7 separate regions of the Homo sapiens genome follow, and regions 1, 2, 3, 4, 5 and 7 are each linked to region 6. Evidence: promoter capture Hi-C in 16 types of primary human blood cells and fetal thymus (Javierre and others, 2016). All regions are on one chromosome and are shown on one strand. The core of a region is centred on a gene start or on the middle of the fragment in contact, and the rest is flanking DNA. Distances in the headings are between cores, read along the strand shown.

The links. Contacts are between HindIII fragments. The CHiCAGO score rates a contact against its expected background, and 5 or more counts as called.
Region 1: a contact is called between a fragment that was not itself captured here and the fragment with the promoter of CUX1 in region 6, in 14 of 17 cell types (M1 macrophages, endothelial precursors, M2 macrophages and 11 more). The highest score is 16.8, in M1 macrophages.
Region 2: a fragment that was not itself captured here is called in contact with the fragment with the promoter of CUX1 in region 6 in 6 of 17 cell types (M2 macrophages, M1 macrophages, endothelial precursors and 3 more); the score reaches 12.3 in M2 macrophages.
Region 3: a contact is called between a fragment that was not itself captured here and the fragment with the promoter of CUX1 in region 6, in 4 of 17 cell types (naive B cells, M2 macrophages, M1 macrophages and 1 more). The highest score is 7.2, in naive B cells.
Region 4: a fragment that was not itself captured here is called in contact with the fragment with the promoter of CUX1 in region 6 in 11 of 17 cell types (endothelial precursors, megakaryocytes, M2 macrophages and 8 more); the score reaches 22.1 in endothelial precursors.
Region 5: a contact is called between a fragment that was not itself captured here and the fragment with the promoter of CUX1 in region 6, in 10 of 17 cell types (M2 macrophages, endothelial precursors, erythroblasts and 7 more). The highest score is 12.1, in M2 macrophages.
Region 7: a contact is called between a fragment that was not itself captured here and the fragment with the promoter of CUX1 in region 6, in 5 of 17 cell types (endothelial precursors, M2 macrophages, M0 macrophages and 2 more). The highest score is 7.9, in endothelial precursors.

The regions. Positions count from the first base shown.
Region 1 is chr7:102,254,171-102,257,163 of GRCh38, forward strand. CUX1 (cut like homeobox 1) reads left to right here. Exons shown (of 24, transcript NM_181552.4): 24 at 1-2,993. Among named protein-coding and RNA genes, the nearest start is that of SH2B2, 31 kb to the right of the region's middle. The HindIII fragment of the contact is 349 bases long and covers 1,452-1,800 here.
Region 2 is chr7:102,190,274-102,193,350 of GRCh38, forward strand. All of the region lies in intron 12 of CUX1 (cut like homeobox 1), which reads left to right. Among named protein-coding and RNA genes, the nearest start is that of SH2B2, 95 kb to the right of the region's middle. The HindIII fragment of the contact is 2,866 bases long and covers 101-2,966 here.
Region 3 is chr7:102,157,624-102,160,653 of GRCh38, forward strand. CUX1 (cut like homeobox 1) reads left to right here. Exons shown (of 24, transcript NM_181552.4): 9 at 937-985. Among named protein-coding and RNA genes, the nearest start is that of SH2B2, 130 kb to the right of the region's middle. The HindIII fragment of the contact is 7,216 bases long and covers 1-3,030 here.
Region 4 is chr7:102,238,064-102,241,466 of GRCh38, forward strand. CUX1 (cut like homeobox 1) reads left to right here. Exons shown (of 24, transcript NM_181552.4): 23 at 1,257-1,521. It overlaps LOC124901711 (a long non-coding RNA gene), which reads right to left. Exons shown (of 3, transcript XR_007060458.1): 3 at 2,489-2,575. Among named protein-coding and RNA genes, the nearest start is that of SH2B2, 47 kb to the right of the region's middle. RefSeq lists a silencer at 1,998-2,067. The HindIII fragment of the contact is 5,463 bases long and covers 1-3,403 here.
Region 5 is chr7:102,086,713-102,090,127 of GRCh38, forward strand. All of the region lies in intron 4 of CUX1 (cut like homeobox 1), which reads left to right. Among named protein-coding and RNA genes, the nearest start is that of SH2B2, 200 kb to the right of the region's middle. The HindIII fragment of the contact is 2,352 bases long and covers 99-2,450 here.
Region 6 is chr7:101,816,363-101,819,552 of GRCh38, forward strand. CUX1 (cut like homeobox 1) reads left to right here and starts at 1,264. Exons shown (of 24, transcript NM_181552.4): 1 at 1,264-1,307. The coding sequence starts at 1,278. RefSeq lists an enhancer at 1-448 and silencers at 274-433, 544-863, 934-1,013, 1,044-1,113, 1,164-1,213. The HindIII fragment of the contact is 10,531 bases long and covers 1-3,190 here.
Region 7 is chr7:102,214,907-102,218,123 of GRCh38, forward strand. All of the region lies in intron 20 of CUX1 (cut like homeobox 1), which reads left to right. Among named protein-coding and RNA genes, the nearest start is that of SH2B2, 70 kb to the right of the region's middle. The HindIII fragment of the contact is 5,756 bases long and covers 1-3,217 here.

The DNA.
Region 1 (2,993 bases), core at 376-2,875, 440 kb after region 6:
TTCTTTTGCAGGCAGGGCGTGGTCTCGGGGCTCCGAGGGTCTTGTCTTTGGTCCGCCTTCCTTTCTGTCCAGTCCTGCTCAGCTGTTAAGATCCATCATGGCCATTATCCTTGTCCCGGACTGCCCCAAAGTTCCCAGCTGGCTTTGGGGAACACTGTAGCTCTTGGGTGTCTCTTGTCTCTGGCATGGTTTTAGCGTCACTGCGAACACTCCTTTGCAAACATCAAACATCTCAAAGACGGAAAAGGATAGATGGCTTCCTCCAGCCTACACGCCCCGTCCACAGTGGCATCACCCTCTTATCCCAAAAGAATATGCCAGTTCCCATCCAGCACCGAAGAAAATCAGCTCCTGGGGCTGGTGGTTGGAGGTGGGTCTGTCCACTGTGGGGGCCAAAGTGTTCCCCTGCTGGAGACAGTTTGCAAGTAAGAACCTAAGGATGGGGACAGCATCCTGTGCTTGGGCATTGACCAGCCAAAGCTCACATTTAGAAAGCCCTCAGTGCTTCTGTGGTTTCACCTGGGCATCGACGACATTAGGGAAGCCTTTGTGACCACAAGGGCAGGGCTTGTGCCCTGAGTGGCGAGGTGGTGACCTGAGGCCAGTGTGATGTGGTTGGATCTCAGCGTGTACTGAATGCCAGTCTGGCCGGCACACTCGAACGCTAAGAGAATGGTCCAATTTGATGATCTTATTTCTATTTCGATCAGGTTTTGACTTTTTGTAGATGAAAACTACCAGGGAAAAGGGGAAGCAGGTACCCAATAAAGTTTAGAAAGATCCAGTCTGTGAAACCCTTAGAGATGGGCTGAAAGTTAAGTCCACCAACCCTTGGGCTTAATCAGGACGGAAGAGGAGGGGGTGTGGGGGGCAGAGCGTAAAACAAGCCCCAGCCCTACTCCCGGCCCCCCAGCCCAGTCTTCCCAATCCCAGAGGCCCCGGCGGCCTGTGCTCCTCACCACCCTGGTCAGGGGAATAGAAGGAAATGCAATTTCCGCCTGTCTGCCCGACTTCCAAAAACTGCCTCCTCCTGCCCAGGCCTCTCCCACCACCACCTTCCCTCCAAAGATAACCGTGTCCATGCCATCCGTGGCATCATCTCGAGTTTTCATTTTTGGATGAAGTGACATTTAGCTTTAACAAGACATTTCCAAAGCGCCTAGTCTCCTCCAAAATGCTAACTTTAAAAGTTGGGCATTGTAGGCGAAAAATCCCAAAAAAAAAAAAAGACAAAAAAAAAAGGCTGGCGAGAGAAAGACATTTGGCTATGCATAAATGTGCACTTCCCCCATGCCCCCGTTCTTAAACTCTTAAGATGCCTTTGAGTTGCTTTTCATGAATCCTTTTAGTTTACCCGATAATGTTAAGAAAGCATTAGTCTACGTTACTGTAATTTCTGTAGTGTTTACGCTTTAATTTCTACCACAAAATATGCTATATGCTATGTATCAAGCTTTCTGTAATCAGAAAGAAAAGGTGCCTTATATCCCAATGTCACGGCTACATCCCTATGGAAATTAATCAGAAGCACAGTGTGTACGGAAGCATTGGGACTTCTGCTGGTGAAACAAGAGACCATTCAGCAAGACACATTGAAGTGGCACGGAGCTGCTTTTGTTTTATAATTCTTTTTTCCCCCCTTTTCCTTCTTCTTTTTTATTATTTTATTATTTTTTTTGTACTTTGCTTTAAACGGAAAGCACTTAAATAGATGACTATGTGTAAAAGCTCTGTGCAATTGAAATCATTTTTCTTCATTTTAAAAAAATAACGTATTGCACACCAAATGAACTCAAAGTAAGCTTTAGACCAGGACGATTCAGGTTATGAATGAGTTTGTTCACTGTAGTTCCGTTTGTTCATGAACCGAAGGGAAAACAGGCCTCCCCGACTCCCTCCAGTCTCCCAGCCTGCCTCTTGGTGACCACTGTGCTGGGCGTGCAGGGCCCGCGGGCTCTGGCCGGAGCCGCTGGCCTGACGAGGCAGGATAGGGAGTATCCGTGATTCAGAAGCTGAGACCCTTCCCCAGTGTCTGAGGCCACAGCCATCCCTTCCAGCACTTAATCTTGTCTTGTTGAAATGGACTGACTGCTACTGACCTGCCGGCGTGCGTGAGGGTGATTATAAAAGGATGTTTCCTTGAGAAAAAAAAAATTATTTCTATCCTCTTCTATTTATTATTAGGTTAATCATTTAAGTACTTATCAGGAGTGTATTGTTATTTTGTGTTTTGTTGTCATAAATGCTTTTTGCTGTCACTCTAGTGGTTACTATCCTCTGCCTTCCTCTCCTCCCCTACTCCCCCAGAGAACCAAGGCGTCTGGGGGATTGACTGGGGGGCAGAGGGGGTTTCCCCAGCAAAATCAAACACCTGTCTCCAGAGTAGCCACTCAAAAACTGGTGGTCTCTATGTGTCTAACTTTTTAAATGAGAGTGTTTATGAACAAAAAAATTTACCAACGTGTGAGGGAGTTGCTGAGTTGAAGAATGCTCGCTTGAGGAGCTTCAGAGGAATCTTAGCAAAGCCAAGTTCAGTTCCCCAAAGCCTCCTAGAGCCTCTGGTAAGACTTCTGGGTTCATGAAGTTTCGGCGAGCCGTGGTCAGAGAGGGCGCGGTGGCCTGGCCAAGACTTTACCTCCAAGCGAGAGAGTGATTTCTTGCAAGGCCCGCATGGGTTGATACGTTTTGGTTGGTTTTTTGTTGTTGTTTTTCTTGCGTACAAAGTTGGTCAAAACCATCTTTCAAAGCAACAGTGTTTTGTAGTACCAGGCTGTGGCTTGAGGGCTCACCTAGGAGATCATAGGCAGAGGGCCCCTTTCCCCTATAGGTGGTTCAACGTGGAGGAAGGTTGGGTGTGGAGATTGCTTGCTGTGGCCCCAAGCTCAGCCAGCAGGACACCCAGTTGTTGCCAATCAGGTGTGAAGGTGAGGCGCCCTGCCTTGATCCCATGGGCCCAGCAGAAGGAAACTTACCCCAGGCCAAGGCAAGGGCCC
Region 2 (3,077 bases), core at 284-2,783, 370 kb after region 6:
ACTCAGGAACTCTGTCTTCCAAACTCTATTCTCCATCTGTGAGGCTGTAGCCGAAAGCTTATCATCTTTTCAGGGCTAATGATGGCATTCTCAGTTCTCAAGCTTCAAAGTTCCTTTCTCGGCCAGCAGCCCCCACCTCTGCCTCCTCACCCTGAGCCTGCTTTGGCACTCTGGAGCTCCCAGGTCCTGGTCTTTACCTGTCCCCCCACATCCATAATGCTCCAGGCTCACTGACCTCCCCTGCAAGCCTGGAGCCTGTGGTCAGACCCTCTACGTTCATACAGCTCCCCTGGATCGTCAGCCATTCCAAGCCTTCCCACTGGCATGCCCGCCTCACTCCTAGGTTATTAAGCACTGCAAACGAAGGTTGCCTAGGGCATGGTGACCAGCCCCACAGGTCCCCCGTGCTTCTCGCGGCTGGAGCTCTGCTGGTTCGAGGCTTCCTCAGGGGTTCCTCCCTGCCCTTGTCACTGTTACCCCAACCACTATCCACAGATGCCCTAGCCCTCTGCTAGGGACAGACTCCCGCCTCTGGTCTTGGGTGCCACCTCCCATCTCTGCAGGCTGCCCCCTCTGCCTAGACCTTGAGTCCCTTCCTTCCTGCCCCTCCTGCTGTCCCATCAGCCCCTTTCTCTCTTGCTGCTATTTTCCATTTCTCCTTTTAAGATGAGCCTACACCCACTCACCACGTTTTCTTTGTGTTGTTAATTCCATTCTGCTAAGAAAAGCTCCTCGGGCATCCTCTTGAACCATCTCACTTCCATGACCAGCTGCCTTCTCTCGCCTGGGACCCCCAGCCTCCCTGGCGTCTGCTGGCCCTGGTAGTCCCTGTCCCCACCATGCTCTCCCCCTGAGCGGTCTCATCCCCTCTCCAGCTGCAAAGCCTCTGCCGGCACCTCCTCGGACAGACCCCTACATCCCTCTAACAGTTCCAGCCTCTGTAACTTACTTACTTGCTTGCTTACTTATTTATTTATTTGACAGAGTTTAGCTCTTGTTGCCCAGGCTGGAGTGCAATGGTGCTATCTCGGCTCACCGCAACCTCCGCCTCCCGAGTTCAAGCGATTCTCCTGCCTCAGCCTCACAAGTAGCTGGGATTACGGGCATGAGCCACCACCCCGGGCTAATTTTGTATTTTTGGTAGAGATGGGGTTTCTCCATGTTGGTCAGGCTGGTCTCAATCTCCCGACCTCAGGTGATCCACCCACCTCAGCCTCCCAAAGTGCCGGGATTACATGTAACTTATTATTAAACATTACCTGGTTAACCTTCTCTACCTGCCTCTCCTATCCCATTCTTTCCTTCCTTTCCCTCTTCTTCCCTCTTCCAAAAAGAAAAAGAAATTGGGCCTTTTAATTTTGAGCCAGAGAAACTGCTGCGAAGGCCTTTGCCCAGCCTCACCCTGGGAGTTAGTCGTCGTCTTCATTGTCGTCTTCGTTGTCTTCTTCTTTCTTCCTCTCTTCTTCTTTCTTCCTCCTCCTCTTCTTCTTTCTTCCTCTTCCTCTTCTTCTTCCTCTTGCTCCTCCTCCTCCTCCTCTTCTCCCCCAACCCCCACGTTCACTTCATCCCCTGGGAGCTGAGGCTTCCAGGCTCCAGCCTGCAACACATACCGTTCTACTCCCTCTCATCCACAGCCTGCCGGACCACAGGCTGCCCCTACCCCCACTGAAGGGCTGCCACACCAGCCCCGCTTGTCACTGCATTTCTGCTAACTCTTTCTGTTGCGTCCGCACATGACAGGCCCCACCACCATGTGCACATCTGGAAGCCCCACTCAGGTGGCTTCTTTGCCCAAATGCGCTCCTAGTTTTCCACTTCCTGGTGAACCAGCTGTGCTCTTGAGCTCTTGCCCGCGTCCCCTTCTCAGCATCGTCCCATTTCCACTTCCTCACCCCCACGCAACAGGGGATGCTGACCTCAGATCCTCATGCACTGCAGCACAAGACACCCTGTCCCTTCAGGGCCCTTCTCCAATGCTTGTTCATCATGACACTGAGACGTGGTCTCCAATCCATCAAGATCCCTCCTGCTGGGGTCCTCACAAGTTCTGTCTTAATGGACCACTTGGAGTCTTGCCTATTACCTGTAATGGCCTGTAAATTTCCTGGAGTACGGACCAGGAGTGGTTCTGATTCCCCACGGCAACAAGCGGATAGCAGGCTGCTGGTAAAGATCTGTAGAATAGATAAAGAGCCACGTGGTCTTTTATTACATAATCCTAAAGAAAATAGGAAACGAAGGACAGGATTCCATCTTAAGAAACCCCTTTCAGCTGGGCGCAGTGGCTCACATCTGTAATCCCAGCACTTTGGGAGGCCGACAGATCACCTGAGGTCAGGAAACCAGCTTGGCCAAAACCGTCTCTACTAAAAATAAATTATCCAGGTGTGGTGGCTCACACTAGGGGGACAGAGGCCGAAATTGTGGCTGCAGGAACATGGCGAAGGTCCGGTTGACTCTGCACCTGCGAGTCGTAAATCTCACGGTCCAGCCAGCCTGCTCTGGGTCTCTCTCTTCCATCCTTGGTATTTCAAAGAAACACTTGCAGCTCCTTCAAAGCCACATAGCCTCACTTCCCCTCTTCTCCCTGGTAAACTCAGCAAAAAAGGGACATCCACAGCAAAAGGAACTCAAGAAACAGTAATAATCCTGGGGACCTGGACTCACTGAGACAGCCCAGAGACCGTAGTGATCAGGGTGCGGCCCTTTTCAGTGCCATTGAGAACAAGGGAGGGAGAAGTCACCTTCTCTTGCCACATCTTTGTCATTGCACTCCTTCCCCAACCTGGGGCTGCAGAGAAGGTCTGCCCACCTGGCTTCTGAGTCATCCAAGTCTAGGAGGTTGCTCTTTGCCTATGTCCCCTGGTCCCCAGGTAGGTGCCAGTTAGGAGTGAGGTGTGGGCAGTGGCCGCCCTGGTGGGTTCCCCTCTCTCTGGCTTCTCCTTACAACTTTTTCCTTCCCTTTAAGCTTTACAAATACATTCCACTTGCAACAATGTTATGTCTGTATTAAACTTTAAAATTATACTCTGAACAGACCTGGTGTGATTCCATATGGAATGATTTACATGCTAGGC
Region 3 (3,030 bases), core at 339-2,838, 340 kb after region 6:
ACAAAAATTAGCCGGGCGTGGTGGTGCACGCCTGTAGTCTCAGCTACTCGGGAGGCTGAGGCAGGAGAATTGCTTGAACCCAGGAGGCGGAGGTTGCAGTGAGCCGAGATCTCATCATTGCACTCCAGCCTGGGCGACAGAGCTCTGTCTCAAAACAAACAAACATACAAACATAAAAGCACTCTCCGCATTCCTCTCTCATGATGCTCTGTGTTGGGTTCGCGTATTTGCCTTCAGATTACTCAAGGAAGTACTTTCAAAACAGAAAAAGGGAAAGACAGAACCTGGACAATTGCTTTTACGACCAGGCTGGGCCATAGCAATGAACCCAGGCTGTCTGCACTGCAGCCTGTACAGTCCCCCAACCTGTGTCACCATCCTCACCTGCCCTCCTCACCTCCAGTTGGCCACCTTCTCCTGGTTTCCTCATTCCTGGTGAGGCTTTCACTGCCAAGTGCCTTTTCCTAAAGTAGCCTTTCCCCAGCTCCTCCTCTCACCCCCAGCCTGGCAAACTTCTACTCATCCTTCAAAACCCCACTTACCTGTCACCTCCTCTGCAGCCTTCCTTGATTCCCTCCCACAAAGAGAATTTATTTCTCCCTCTTTTTTTCAGAGCACTCTGCTCAGAGCTCTTTTTGAACCCTTGGCAGGACATGCTGTATTTTATATTTTTATGGTTATGTCTCCCCAATGAGATTGGGACCCCATCAAAGGCAGGCACCCCATACGCACCAGACACATGATTATCAAAAGAGCGCATGGCATCAGCAAGCACATCTCTTCCCCCAGTGTGAGCCCACCTCCTCCTGCTGGACAGCATTGACTCACGGGTCTGCACAGCCCTTCCCGAGCCCTGAGCTAGGAAGCTGTCCCATCAGTCACCCCCTGAGCCGGTCTCCTTGTGACTAACCTGCTCTCTCCCTCTCACCCTCCTAGGGCCGACGAGATTGAAATGATCATGACGGACCTTGAAAGGGCAAACCAGGTAGGACCCTGGACGCTTTTAGTCCTAAAACCCACAATAGCGGGCCCGTTTCTGGCATCTCGGAAGATGCGTCACCCGAAGTTAGAAGGCCGGTTATCCTTCCATTTTTTACTGACAGCTTTCAACGTCGATGCTCCTTCTGTTGTCATGAGAAGTAGGAAAAGACATAAAAAGTCCTAGGAACCATTTCCTTGGCAAAGTCTTTGATGTGGTTCCAACATCTCAGACATCCCATGGTGAACATCCCCTCCAAAGTGGTAACTGTCTCCTTTTCCCTACTCCATCTCTAAACACCCGTCTTTGTAGCTGTGGCATCCATGACAGTGTAGACATCTCACCATGGAATTATCCTCGGAGAGTTCCTTAGTGTAGACATCTCACCACGGTGTTATCCTAGGAGAGTTCCTTAGTGTAGACATCTCACCACGGTGTTATCCTAGGAGAGTTCCTTAGTGTAGACATCTCACCACGGTGTTATCCTAGGAGAGTTCCTTAGTGTAGACATCTCACCACGGTGTTATCCTAGGAGAGTTCCTTAGTGTAGACATCTCACCACGGTGTTATCCTCGGAGAGTTCCTTAGTGTAGACATCTCACCACGGTGTTATCCTAGGAGAGTTCCTTAGTGTAGACATCTCACCACGGTGTTATCCTAGGAGAGTTCCTTACCGCCACGTTCTCATGGGTCGCAGCCACTTGCTCCAAAGAGGGCTCTCAGCTGACGGCCCCTTTTTGGCTGACACTTGGTGCTCAGAGAGGCCTTATGGCAAGTACCCAGCACAGTGTCCGGCCCAGATCAGGCACAGGACGCATCTTAACCATTAGCGTACTTTTGGGTGATTCTAAATACTCTGCTTCCTGGAAAATTCAGCCATCCCCAAAACCCCTTCCTCCCCCCAGGAGCCCACAGAACAGGAAAACATTTTGCTTTAGCTGGTGCTGCTGTTGCTCTGAAAAGAAAGTGGTCCCCCAGCCGGGCACAGTGGCTCACGCCTGTAATCCCAGCAGTCTGGGGGGCCAAGGTGGGAGGATCACTTGAGGTCAGGAGTTTGAGACCAGCCTGGCCAATATGGTGAATCCCCGTCTCTACTAAAAATACAAAATTTAGCAAGGCGTGGTGGCAGGCGCCTATAATCTCAGCTACTCAGGAGGCTGAGGCAGGAGAATCACTTGAACCCTGGAGGCAGCAGTTGCAGTGAGCCAAGATCTAAGCCTGGGCAACAGAGCAGAAACTCCATCTCAAAAAAATACAAAATAAAATTTAAAAATAAATTTTTACTACCCAGCCTTGGGCTGGGTGTAGTGGCTCACGCCTGTAATCCCAGCACCTGGGGAGGCCGAGATGGGTGGATGACTTGAGGTCAGGAGTTTGAGGCCAGCCTGGCCAACATGGTGAAGCCCCATCTCTGCTAAAAATACAAAAATTAGCCGGGTGCGGTGACATGCACCTGTCATCCCAGCTGTTCAGGAGGCTGAGGCAGGAGAATCACTTGAACCCAGAAGGCAGAGGTTGCAGTGAACCAATCATGCCACCATACTCCAGCTTGGATGACAGAGCGAGAATCTGTCTAAAAAAAAAAAAAAGCAGTTACTGGAAGGAGTTACCTTCATCATAGATCACTATTCCTATTTCTCAAGTTTCCACCGACTCCACCTCTCTCCTCAAGGCCAGTCTTGGGCATGCCTTGCCTTTAGATGGCACTTTAGGGCAATCTAATGTGCCCAACAGGAGAGCCTGGTTTGTTAAACGGGAGAGCCTTATCCTGTGAATATCAGTGCTCTATCCAGAACAGGTTCTCTGTGGTCTCAGAGGCAGTCCCCAGCTACCTAAGAAGTTTGGCAAAGCGAATGCACTTCTCAAGGTGCCAAAGCCACTCGGTGGACCCCAGTCTTAGGAGACACCAGACAAGGCTGTAGGGACAGGTGCTGGCTCCGCAATGACACGGGTTCAGTTCCTAACTCGGTATTTCCTGTGTGGCCTTGACGGGTCTCTTAATCTCTTAAATTTCTTGGTCATAAAAAAATCAAAAGAAAAGTGAACCTTGA
Region 4 (3,403 bases), core at 110-2,609, 420 kb after region 6:
CTAGGAGCGTGACCACTGAAGCACAGCATCACAGGGAGATGGTTAGGCCTCCAGATAACTGCGGGCAAGCCTGACAATGTCAGGCCCTCCACAAGAGGTGGAGGAGCAGAGTCTTCTCTAAACTCCCCCGGGGAAAGGGATACTCCCTTTCCCGGGATACTCCCTTTCCCGGTCTGCTAAGTAGCCTGTGTTTTTCCTTGACACTGAGGCTACCGCTAGACCACGGTCCGCCTGGCAACGGGCGTCTTCCCAGACGCTGGCGTTACCTCTAGACCAAGGAGTCCTCTGGTGGCCCTGTCTGGGCATAACAGAAGGCTCGCACTCTTGTCTTCTGGTCACTCCTCACTGTGTCCCCTCATCTCCTATCTCTGTATGGCCTGGTTTTTCCTAGGTTATGGTTATAGAGCAAGGATTATTATAATATTGGAATAAAGAGTAATTGCTACAAACTAATGATTAATGATATTCATATATAATCATATCTAAGATCTATATCTGGTGTAACTATTCTTGTTTTATATTTTATTATACTAGAACAGCTTGTGTCCTCGGTCTCTTGCCTCGGTACCTGGGTGGCTTGCCGCCCACACCCAGGCCTGGCCGAGGAACTCTTCTCAGTATCCCCATGGTCTCTTGCACTTACTTACCCCCACCCCACTTTTCACTCTGCTGGGAACATCTCTCTGGATACTTCTCTGCCTCCCCTACTAAACTGTTAAGTTGTGCAGGGACAGGTGAGGACCTGACATTCCGTCAGAGCAGGTCCTTGGTGAGCATGTGCTGGTAACAGAATGGCTCTCATCTTAGCGTTGTTTCTTTTGTTTTGTTTTGTTTTGTTTTGTTTGAGACGGAATCTTGCTCTGTTACTCAGGCTGGAGTGCAGTGGCACCATCTCATCTCACTGCAACCTCCACCTCCCAGGTTCATGCAATTCTGCCTCAGCCTCCCTAGTAGCTGGGATTACAGGTGCGTACCACCACGCCCAGCTGATTTTTGTACTTTTAGTAGAGACGGGGTTTCACCATATTGGCCAGGCTGGTCTTGAACTCCTGACATCAAGTGATCTGCCTGCCTCGGCCTCCCAAAGTGCTTGGATTACAGGCATGAGCCACCATGCCCAGCCTCATCTTAGTGTTTTGAGATGCTCTATGCAAAGTCCTGCAAGCCGGCACTGTGCCGTCCCGCTAGCGGGACTGGGGATTTGGGCTGCTGTCCCAGCTGGGCCTGACCTTAGTCTGCCATCTCTTCCTCCGCAGCCTACATGAAGCGGCGGCACAGCTCAGTCAGTGACAGCCAGCCCTGCGAACCGCCCTCTGTCGGCACCGAGTACAGCCAGGGCGCCAGCCCCCAGCCCCAGCACCAGCTGAAGAAACCCCGGGTGGTGCTGGCTCCGGAGGAGAAGGAGGCGCTGAAACGAGCGTATCAGCAAAAGCCATACCCGTCACCAAAAACCATCGAAGACCTCGCCACCCAGCTCAACCTGAAAACCAGCACCGTCATCAACTGGTTCCACAACTACAGGTACGACGGCTGGCTCACAGGGAGCGCCGGTCGGCCCAGGGGAAGGGGCTGATCTGTCCGGAGGCCGCCATGGCGCACAGGGGTGAGGCTGGGGCCGGAGGTGGGGCGCTGGGAGCTCGGTGATTGGTCCGTTCCTTGGTCCCTTAGGGTTTTTTTTTTCTTTTCTTTTCTTTTCTTTTGAGATGGAGTTTCAATCTTGTTGCCCAGGCTAGAGTGCATTGGCGCAATCTCGGCTCACTGCAACCTCCGCCTCCTGGGTTTAAGCAGTTCTCCTGCGTCAGCCTCCCAAGTAGCTGGGATTACAGGCATGCACCACCAAGCCCGGCTAATTTTTGTATTTTTAGTAGAGACGGGGTTTCACTATGTTGGTCAGGCTTGTCTCAAACATCCTGACCTCAGGTGATCTGCCCACCTCGGCCCCGCAAAGTGCTGGGATTACAGGCGTGAGCCACCACGCCTGGCAGTTCCTTAGGTGTTATTGGAGGTTTTAACTGCAGAGATGTAAGGCCACGTCCCTTCCCGTCACTGTCACATAGTTAGAAACAGGTGGTATCTGCCATGACCCAGAAAGAAAATCACCTCTCGATTACATCATTTAATAAGGGAGAGTGTAGGCATTCATGGTTCAAAAGGAGTGAAACTTTTGTGGTTTAGTTTATATATATCTATATTTATAGTTATATTCATATTTATTTATTTTTAGAGACAAGGGCTTGCTCTGTCACCCAGGCTAAAGTGCAGTGGTGCAATCATAGCTTACTGCAGGCTGGAACTCCTGGGCTCAGGCAGTCCTCCCACCTCAGCCTCCTGAGTAGCTAGGATGCCAATGCACCACCATGCCTGCTGATTTTTTATAGAGACAGGGGTCTCGCTCTGTTGCCCAAGCTGGTCTCAAACTCCTGGCCTCAAGCAGTCCTACCACCTCAACCTCCCAAAGCCTTGTGATTATAGACATGAGCCACCACACCTGGCCTGAACTTTTATTTCTTAGTGATTTTGCAGTGCTTTCTCGGGGTCTTCTGCCATGTTATCTTCCAAATTAGTTTGATTAGTTCTGTAATTAAATAAATGAAGTCATTTAAGACCTTTGCATTTGGGAAAGTTCATGAGTTAATGAAGACAGATTGAGCATCTTCTAGATCTCAGATTCTGAGCTAAGTATTTCACCGAGTTATATCACTTAATCCTCACAGCTCACAAATGTATATGAGATACCTTATTCTTGTCATTCCTTTTTTGTTGTTGTTGTTGTTTGAGACGGAGCCTTGCTCTGTCGCCCAGGTTGGAGTGCAGTGGCACGATCTCGGCTCACTGCAGCCTCCTTCTCCCAGGTTCAAGCGACTCTCCTGCCTCAGCCTCCTGAGTGGCTGAGACTACAGGTGTGCACCACCACGCCTGGCTAATTTTTGTATTTTTAGTAGAGACGGGTTTCATCATATTGGCCAGGCTGGTCTCGAACTCCTGACCTCAAGTGATCCGCCTGCCTCGGCCTCCCAAAGTGCTGGGATTACAGGCATGAGCCACCGCACCCAGCCAGTTCTCTTCATTCTACAGATGAAAAATATAGAACTCAGAGGGGCTAAGGAGGTCAGGCCCCAGTGCTGTCTTGGTAGAACAAAGTGCACTGGGATGAAGTGTTTGGAGTAGATGGAGGAAACCCACTGAAGGATCCTGAGTTGCTGATCATAGCTATAACCATACTCTCTGCTGCTAGAAACCAAGAATTCCAGGGCCCTGATGGAGATCCCTAAGCTAGTGCCTTGCCATTGACCATCTCAGGTGCTGCTTCCCATTGTCCCTAGGGCACGATAACATTGGGGTAGGTGCTCCTGGTTCAACCAAGGTCACCCTACGTAGGTCTAGCCGATGGCAGTGGGGCCCT
Region 5 (3,415 bases), core at 25-2,524, 270 kb after region 6:
AATTCTCCTGAATGTGGATGGCGTTTTGAAATCTAATTATTATTTTGGATTTTTCTTTTTTCTTTCAGTTCTGTCAGTTTTTGATTTGCATAGTTTAAAGCTTTGTTTTGGGGCAAATATACCTTTAAGATTATTATATCGTCTCTCAATTGTTTGATTCTTTTAAGTTTATACAATGACCTTCATTATTCCTGGAAATATTCCATATCGTAAAGTATTCTTTTTCTGATTTTAATATAAGCACTCTGGCTTTCTTTTGATGAGAGTTTTTATGTTATATATTTTTCTATACTTTTACTATTAACCTGTCTGTATCTTTATGTTTAAGTTATGTAAATACCTACATCTTGCTTTTTTATCCATCCTATCTGCCTCTTAACTGGAATGTTAGATCATTTACATTTAATGCAATTATGGATAAAGTTGGATTGAAGTCTACCATCTTACTTTTTCTATTTGTCTTGCCTGTTTTTTCTTGTATTTTTCCTGCTTTTGATTAACTGATTTTTTTAATGTTTTTATCTCCCCAATTATCTTATTAGCTATAACTCTTATTTTCTTAAGGGTTACTTTAAAGTGAAAAGTAAGCCAGCCATGATGGCTCACACCTGTAATCCCAGCACTTTGGGAGGCCAAGGCAGGCAGATCACCTGAGGTCAGCAGTTTTAGACCAGCCTGACCAACATGGAGAAACCCTATCTCTACTAAAAATACAAAATTAGCTGGGCGTGGTGGCACATGCCTGTAATCCTAGCTACTCAGGAGGCTGAGGCAGGAAAATCTCTCGAACCCGGGAGACAAAGGTTGCGGCGAGCTGAGTTCGTGCCGTTGCATTCCAGCCTGGGCAACAAGAGCAAAACTCCATCTCAAAAAAAAAGTGAAAAGTAACCATCTTTAACTTATCATTTTATACCTTCAAATAATACACCATTTCACATACAATATAAGAATCTTATAATACATTGTCACTTTCTCACTCTTGTTCTTTTGTGCATTTTTACTGATTTTACTTCTACCTATACTACAACGCTATAATACATGGTTACTATTTTTTCTTTAAACCATTAACTTTTAAAGAAATTAAAAATGAAATTATAATATTTTATTTTTACTCATCTATTTACCATTTCCAGTGTTGTTTATTCCCTTGCGTGGATTCAAGTATGCACGTGAAATCATTTTCTTTTGGTCTATAGATCTCCTTTTAACATTTATTATGATATAGGCACACTGGCAATGAATTCTGTTAGCTTTCATTCATCTGGGGAAAAAATACCTTAATCTCACCCTTTTTTTTTTTTTTAAGACAGAGTCTTGCTCTGTCACCCAGGCTGGAGTGCAGTGGTGCAATCTTGGCTCACTGCAACCTCCATCTCCCAGGTTCAAGTGATTCTGCTGACTCAGCCTCCCCAGTAACTGGGATTACAGGTGTGTGCCACCATGCCTGGCTAATTTTTGTATTTTTAGTAGAGACGGGGTTTCTCCATGTTGGCCAGGCTGGTTTCAAACTCCTGACCTCAGGTGATCTGCCTGCCTTGGCTTCCCAAAGTGCTGGGATTACAAGCGTGAGCCACCGCGTCCAGCCACCTTCATTTTTAAAGAGTATTTTTTGTCAGATATAAAATAGTTTCTTGGGTCTGCCAGTCATGGTGGCTTATGCCTGTAATCCCAACACTTTGGGAGGCTGAGGCGGGCAGATCGCTTGAGGTCTGGAGCTGGAGACCAGCCTGGCCAATATGGTTAAAGCCCTGTCTCTACTAGAAAAACAAGAATTAGCTGGGTGTGATGGTGCACACCTGTAATCCCAGCTACTCGGGAGGCTGAGGCAGGAGATTCTCTTGAATCCAGTAAGCAGAGGTTGCAGTGAGCTGAGATCGTGCCGCTGCACTCCAGCCTGGGTGACAGAGCAAGACTCTATCTCAAAAGAGAAATAAAATAAATAAAATGAAATAGTTTGTTGGTGGTTTGGGTTCTGGTTTTTTCTCTCTCTGGACTGACTGTTTCTGAGACAGGCGATCTCCAGTAATTCATATATATTTTTTTAACCTATATACAATTAATCTTTTTCTCTTCACCATTTAAGATTTTCCTTTTCTAATTTTGATTTCAGAAACTCTCTTACGCTTACTGGTGTTCTTTGGGTTTATCCTGCATGGAGTTTGTAGAGTTTCTTGAATTTTTAGGTTTATAGCTTTTATGAAGTTTGGAACATTTTGCCACTGTTTCTTCAAATACACCCTTTCCCTCTTTCTGGGAAATGTATGTTTGGTTGCTTAATTTTGTTTCATAGGTTGCCGAGGGTTTACTAACTTTTTTTTTCAATCTTTCTGTGTATTTCTGTTTGGTTTGTTTCTGTGACTATATCTTTAAATTCACTGATCTTTTTCTTTCACTGTGTCTAATCTATTGTTCAGCCAATCAAGTGAATTTTTTCCATTTCACATACTTTAAGCTTCAGAATTCGATTTGATTCTTTATGTTTTCTGTTCCTCTCTGTATTGTATTCATATTTTTCTTTAAATCCTTGGACATGCTGATAATAGATGTTCTAGTCTGCTTCTTCCATTATCTCTTGTCATTTCTGGTTCTGTTTTTATGAAGTGATTTTTCCCCTGATCATCCTGCTGCTTTGCATGTCTAGTAATTTCCTATTGAATTTTAGACATCATGAGCTTTAACTGGATTTTGTTGTCTTATTTAAGTTTGGGCAGGCAGTTAAGTTACTTGCAGGTCAGTTTGATCATCCTGAGACTTGTTTGTAGCTTTTTGGAGTGGATATGGGCAAGCCTTGAAGATGAGTTTAGCCCTCCACTCAGGTGGGACACTTCCAGTGTCTTTACTCTTCAACAAGTCCTTGCTCTTCAACAAGTGTGTCCTCTCTGGCTGGTTGCAGTTGGAAAGTCCTCCAGCCCTCAAACTGTGGGAGGTTTTCAGCTCAGACTTTCCTTTCTATTCTTGCCTGGCCTTAGGAGTTTCACCCTGTGCATAGGCACTTTAGCTCTTGGCAAAAGATCGCCTCTCTGCAGATTTCTGTAGCTCTTGTCCCTCCTTTTCACACTCTGCCTTGCAAATTCCAATTGCTGCAGCCACCCAATCTTGTGATGTGTGTCCTTCAATGGACAGGGAGACCATCACACTCCGCTTGGGTTTTTTTCTTCATTGTGATGCAATCCAGAGAGTTCTTCCTGCCAGGAAGGGTAACATAGAGCTCATCTCATTTGCTTCCCTTCCTTCAGGGAAGTCTTGTTCCACCAGTTGTCCAGCGTCTGTAAATAGTTGTTTCATTGACTTTGCCTAGTTTTCTAGTTGTTTATGACCAGAGCACAAGTTGAGTATCAGTAGATCTGTCATGGCCAGAAGCAGAGACTCCAAGTTCTGTTAATTTTGATTTTTGGTTTTCATGGAAATGGCTGGA
Region 6 (3,190 bases), core at 14-2,513:
CCCCCGGTGTCTGCCCCCACCCCGGGCGCCCCCCCGGGCCCCGCGCCGCCGCCGCCGCCAGCGCCGCCGCCGCCGTTGCCGCCGCGGGACCGGGGAGGGGGCGGCCCCGGCGGCCCGCGGGGTGCGCGCGCGAGCGGGGAGCGGGGAGCGGGCGGCGGGGGGCGGGCGGCGGCGGGCGCCGGGAGGGGGCCGCGGCCCGGCGGTGGCGCCCGCCCGCCCGCTCGCCCCGCGCCCCCGGCCCGCCGTATTCCCGGGGAAAGTTTGTGGGGAGTTGCTGCGGGGGGTGAAGCGCCTGCCTCTCCAGGAGGAGCCGCCGCCACTGCCGCCGGCGCGGCGGAGCTGGGGCTGGTGGCGCTGTGGTGCCGCCGGCTCGGGGGAGGGTCAGAGCGGCCACCGGCGGCGGCGGCGGCGGCGCGGCCCGGCTCCGGCCAGGCGGGCGGGTGGCCGGGCAGGCGCCCGCGCTCGCTACCCCCGGCCGGCCCCGGCCGCCGCCCCCGGCTGTCACCGGCCCGGGCCGCGCCGCCGCTCCGGCACCCCGCGTGTGGCTCCCGGCGCGGACCCCCGGGTTTGTTTACGTCCCGGGGAGCGCCCCGGGGCCACCCGCGCACCTCGCGGCCGCCGCGCTCTTTTGTGTGCCTGTGTCGGTGACGCGGACCTGTTCCTCCGTGGCGGACCCCCGCGGGGGCTCTTTGGGGAAACTTGGCGAGGGGCGGCGGGGGTGCCCCGCGCGCAGTGTCGCTGGGTCCCGGTGTCCCGGACCGCCGGGTGCGGGCGCGGGAGGAGGAGGCTGCAACTTTCCCCTAGGCAGGCCCCAAGCTGTTCCCCCGGGTGCCCGGGCAGTGTACGCTGCCTCCCCGCCGCCGGTCCGAGCCGCGATCGCCGCGCGCCTGGGGGCTCCGGCGGCCCCCGGTGACCTGCGGCGCCGGGTCCCTTCCTTGCGTCCCCTCGGGGCTTCTGCCCTCTCTGCAGGGCCCGCCATGGAGCGCGCGGCGGGTGCGCTCGGAGATGCCTTCTCGGGCCGGGTTCTCGAAAGCAGAGCCCCGGGGGCCCGTTGGGACCGTGGCATGCCGGGCGGTGGTCCGCGCGCGGAGTCCCCGGCGCCGCGGGGGGACCGTGCCGGGGCTCCCCGGCCCGCGCCCGAGTCGCCGCCGTGCCCAAGGGGCGAGTGCCTGCCTGCCACCCCCCGCCCGGAGGAGCGGCGCACCCTTAGGGTCCGCCCCGCACGTGCCAGCTCGGCGCCCGCGGCGCCGGGACAGCCCCGGGACTCTGCCAGGTGGATGTTGTGCGTAGCCGGAGCCAGGTTGAAGGTGAGCGGCGTGTGGGCCAGAAGTCCCGAGGTTGCAGGCGCGGAGGGAACCGGGGATGTCGGGGGGTGCCCGGGTCCCGCGGCTTAGAATGCTCTAGGGCGGCCTGGTGCTCTGGGAGGGGATAGGAGGGTTCCTCAGGGCCCCTGGGGAACTGCAGCTACTCCCAACTGCTAAGGTGTGCGTGAAGATAAACTTGGCTGAACTTTCCTAACCTGGAGGACTGGTGACAGTGACCTACCGCAATACCTTTGGGAGCAAAGCTCGAGATGCAGGCTTGTATCAAACGAAGCGGGTTGGATTAAAACATATTTAAATGGAATCTGACAACTTTAATTGTATATGCTTGTTTTCTGCTCTTGCCTACTAAGAACGATAAAGCCGAGTCATAGTCGTTATGAAATTTCCTGAAATTTCTCGCTTAACTAGGAAGAAGACTATGCGAAATATGTATTTCCGATAAGATTAAAACTTAAAGGAGTTTAAGTATTTATTGACTAAAATAGATTACTCCAAAGTGTCTATTGTGTAAATTAGATTCCTGGATGTAATGAACACAGCCGAATGGCATTTTTGATAAATTGGTCTACCCTGTTTTAGTAAAAATAGCTCCCTTTTACCATAATTTAATTCCTGTGCTTACTGTAAAACCCGTTGTGGAGTTTTAAGGACAAACATTATTATTATTTTTCTCTCTTGTCTTCCTAAATGTGACATCCTAGCTTAATATCAATGAAGTGTCTTTTTTAAAGCATCCTGGCAAAATTGCCTGGAAAATGGATTTGGTTTCTAGAGTTACTAGATTTTAAGAACTCTAAACCTTCCTGTCCCCCATATTAGCTACTTCTTCAGGGGATCAGGGCTCCAGGGTTCCATCGAAAGTTTCCATGTCAGTTTACTTGCACTTTATGTGGATATTAAGAAGAAATCAAAACCAAACCCCAAAACAAAGTCCCTTATTTGAACTTCATTCCTCTTTACTCCTTTGCTTTTGGTGGTTGCTAACGATTTGGCCTTAGATGATTTCCTATGGGTTTGCAAACTTTAGTCGAATACGGAATGTCAAAGTTCAAGTCTCAGGCCAATCTGGTTCTTTCTCTGGGCGGTGAGGAGGCCTTTGGAGTTGGTGTCTGGTTAATTCCCACCGATAGTCAGTGAGTCAATAGAACGAGTTTGGGAGAGAATTCATTAGTTCCAGATTTTTCTCATTTTTCCAGACCTCTTTATACTGAGATTGGGTTGCCACCTGGGGGTAAAGAGGCTGATCGGTCTTTGCAGAGAGAAATCCAGGTTGGAGACGTCAGCGGGTCCAGGTGAGGTTGGGCCGTTCCGCAGTTCTGCAACCCTGGCTCACTGGGTTCTTGTCCCTCGGCTTCCTGGGTCTTGAAGCTGCTGCCTTGGCACAGGAGTGTGTGCTCAGGAAGAGAATTTCTGAAGATTGTGTTTTATTCCGTTTCCTTTTTAGTCCCAAAGGCTTGTGGTATGGAAGTTTCAGTGCTTTGGTATTGCTAAGACTAGTTGGACAAGTTTTTTATCCTATCTCAGACTTGTAAAAACCAGGTTTTCTTTTCTTTTTAAATAAGAAAAGCACTGTTGTATAAATTTGTCTTTTAAATACATATTTGAAAGGAGGACACTTTCTAAGACAAAGCTCATGGCACTCTGTATGTTAGTGGAGCTTTGAACTCTTTGGGACGGGGCCCGCCAATGACTGCCTTCCCTTTGGGACATTATTCCCACATGGTGACCAGCCTTCCCCTTTAAGCAGCTTCTGCAAAAGTAAACTTGAAAAGTTGCCTTCTTTTTCAGAATCAAAAAACAATTTCAGTTTTGCTGAAAGTCCATTTTCTGATGGCTTTTTTTCCCCCTGTTGTGGAAGTGTGTAT
Region 7 (3,217 bases), core at 442-2,941, 400 kb after region 6:
CCAAAATTAGTCTGTCATTTGGCACCTAAATAAAGCAGCCAAACTACCTTTATACCAGCTTTGCAATTAGGCGGTAGTTGGAACATTCTATTTGATAAGGAAACTTTTATGGATGCCTTAGCAGCACCTCTGAACCCAGGAGGCTGAGGAGAGAGGACACCCGGGCCCCAGAGGGACACTCCTTCCTCGCCATCAGGCCTTCTCATTCCAGAGTTAAGGTCAATTTTGTTCCATGTGGCTTAAAAACACCTCGTGAATGTGGAAAAGACAGTCAATGCTCCCCAGAAATAGCATTCTAAGAGCATGGCAATGGTTACTCCAACTTTTTTTTTTTTTTTTTTTTTTTTTTTTTGCAAGCAAAGAAAAATCTGTCCAGAGTGCCTGGAGCTGGGTTAGTGCAGGGACTCCCCAGGGGCAGCAGAAAGATGTTATAATCAATTATCACATCATAACACTGATGTATGATAATTACTGAGTGTTTCTCCTGAGATAGTGCAGCATTTGGCTGGGATGCCGCTCTTTCACGGTCCACTGCCTGATTAATATGCAAATAATAGGCTGATTGCATGATGAATGCAGAAATGAGTTCGCTGATAACGTGAGCACCGAAGCGGGAAGATGATAAATTACTTTTACTGACTGTCCTACATTAAGTACCCTTTCTCAACAATTTCATCACAAATTAAGTAAAGCAGTATGGAGAGATTAGGAGGACGTGTAAAATAATGTACCTTAATGGTTTTTCTAATACCATCGTGGAAGACGAAAATCTCAACTTGGTTCTGCCCGGGTCTTTGTAGGGCCAAGTGAGTTCACTCACCTGGGCATTGAGTGGAAGACAGGAGGCACCCCACCACACCGGCGTGTTCCACGGGCCATGATCAGCCATGGATTCTCTGAGGAATATCCCATTGCAGCCCAGACATTACCCGCACACTGGGCCAACAGGCAGCATCATGGAGGGAGGAGGACAGGCTGCTCTCGGGGCAGACGCAGCATCCTCCACACAGATGGGCACCCCCAAGCCTGCTGTCCACCATGTGCCTGCAGGAAAGGAGCATTTCTGGGCTGCAGGCCTGGAAGACTCGGAAAGAAAACAACATTTAAGACCTCCTGCCTGGGCACAGTGGCTCACGCCTATAATCCCAGCACTTTGGGAGGCCGCAGCGGGAGGATCACTTGAGGCCGGGAGTTTGAGACCAGCCTGGACAACATGGGGAAACCCCATCTCTACAAAAAATACAAAAATTAGCCAGGCGTAGTGGTGTGCATCTATAATCTATAGTCTATAGTCCCAGCTACTTTGGAGGCTGAGGCGGAAGGATCATTGGACCCTAGGAGGTGGAGGTTGCAGTGAGCTGAGATCACGCCACTGCACTCCAGCCTGGGCAGCAGAGCAACACCCCATCTCAAAATTTAACAAACAAAAAAAGACCTCCTTGACCTCTTTTTAGCTCTTCCAAGTCTCAGAAATCTGGAAAAATTAATTTCACTATTAGAATGGCAGTGGGCACACCGGCCAGAGAGCATGACTTGGTAAGGGATGGGTAGGTTTGTCCAAAGCCAGAATTGAACCCTTGAGAAAAAGAGGGCGTGCGTGTGTGCGCGCACACACACACTCTCCCCCCCACACACACACACCCACACACGCACACACACTCCCACACACACACTCTCCCACACACACACTCCCACACACACACACACACTCCCCACACACACACCCCCACACACGCACACACACACACTCTCCCACACACACTCACACACACACACTCCCCCACACACACTCCCACACGCACTCTCCACACACACATGCACACAGAGTCCCACACACACTTCTGCACACACACACTCTTCCACACACACTCTCCCACACACACACTCTCCCACACACACCCCCACACACACTCTCCCACCACACACACACACACATTCTCTCTCCCTCACACACACATTCTCTCACACACACATTATCTCACACACACACACACACACACATTTGCAGTGATTAATCTTTGATTACAGCAAAGCAATTTAACTAGAGGCTTTGTTTTTTCCCGTCTTAGTAATATATATTTAGACTGTTTGTATGACATACATTTTGTCTTAATGCACAGGGACGCATTGATAAGTGTTCGTACACACAGCTGGCTTGGTAATAAGGTTATTGAAGGTAATTTGAAAGCATCATTTCTAAATCAGTATGGATCTGCAGAAAAGCCGGAACAAGGCGAGCCTGTGCCCCTGAAGCAGGGCCATCTGTGTCACCCAGTGTCCCTTCAGCAATCTGGCCAGACTGAGTTCACTACCAAAATCGAATTGTAATTTAAGCAGGGTTTTTAATTTTTAATATCTTCAAGCTCTGCTTTTGATATGCTTATTTCCTTAAGAGCTTATAAAAGATACACAAGCCAACTGAGCCCAGAGGGAAAGTGACTTTCCACTCCGAATCCCCGGCAGGTCCCCTCCCCGCCCGCGGGTGAGCTCTGGTTCTGCGCAGGTTCCCGCCAACCACAGGGCCTCATCACCTCTGCAGCTTCCTCCTCGTGCATTTCAGGCCAACACAGAATTTCTAAGATCATTTCTCCCCACCGTACCTTCCCATGTCGGGGAGATGAAAGAGGAGAGTCGAAAACCATCCCCAGAGGGAGGGAGGCTCCAGATGGATGCCATGGTGTCTAGAGGGAGGGAGGCTCTGGATGGATGCGATGGTGTCTAGAGGGAGGGAGGCTCTGGATGGAAGCAATGGTGTCTAGAGGGAGGGAGGCTCTGGATGGACACGATGGTGTCTAGAGGGAGGGAGGATCTGGATGGACGTGATGGTGTCTAGAGGGAGGGAGGCTCTGGATGGATGTGATGGTGTCTAGAGGGAGGGAGGCTCTGGATGGACACGATGGTGTCTAGAGGGAGGGAGGATCTGGATGGACGTGATGGTGTCTAGAGGGAGGGAGGCTCTGGATGGATGCGATGGTGTCTAGAGGGAGGGAGGATCTGGATGGACACGATGGTGTCTAGAGAGAGGGAGGCTCCGGATGGATGCGATGGTGTCTAGAGGGAGAAAGGCTCTGGATGGACACGATGGTGTCTCCTCTAGTTAGAGGAGCTCATGGTTGACTTCTCAGAGCAACTTCTCACTCGCTTGGCAGCAGGGACCTGTCACACCCCTGTGCTGTGGCCAGGACCATGTTGCCTGCACTGCTGCACCTCCAGACCC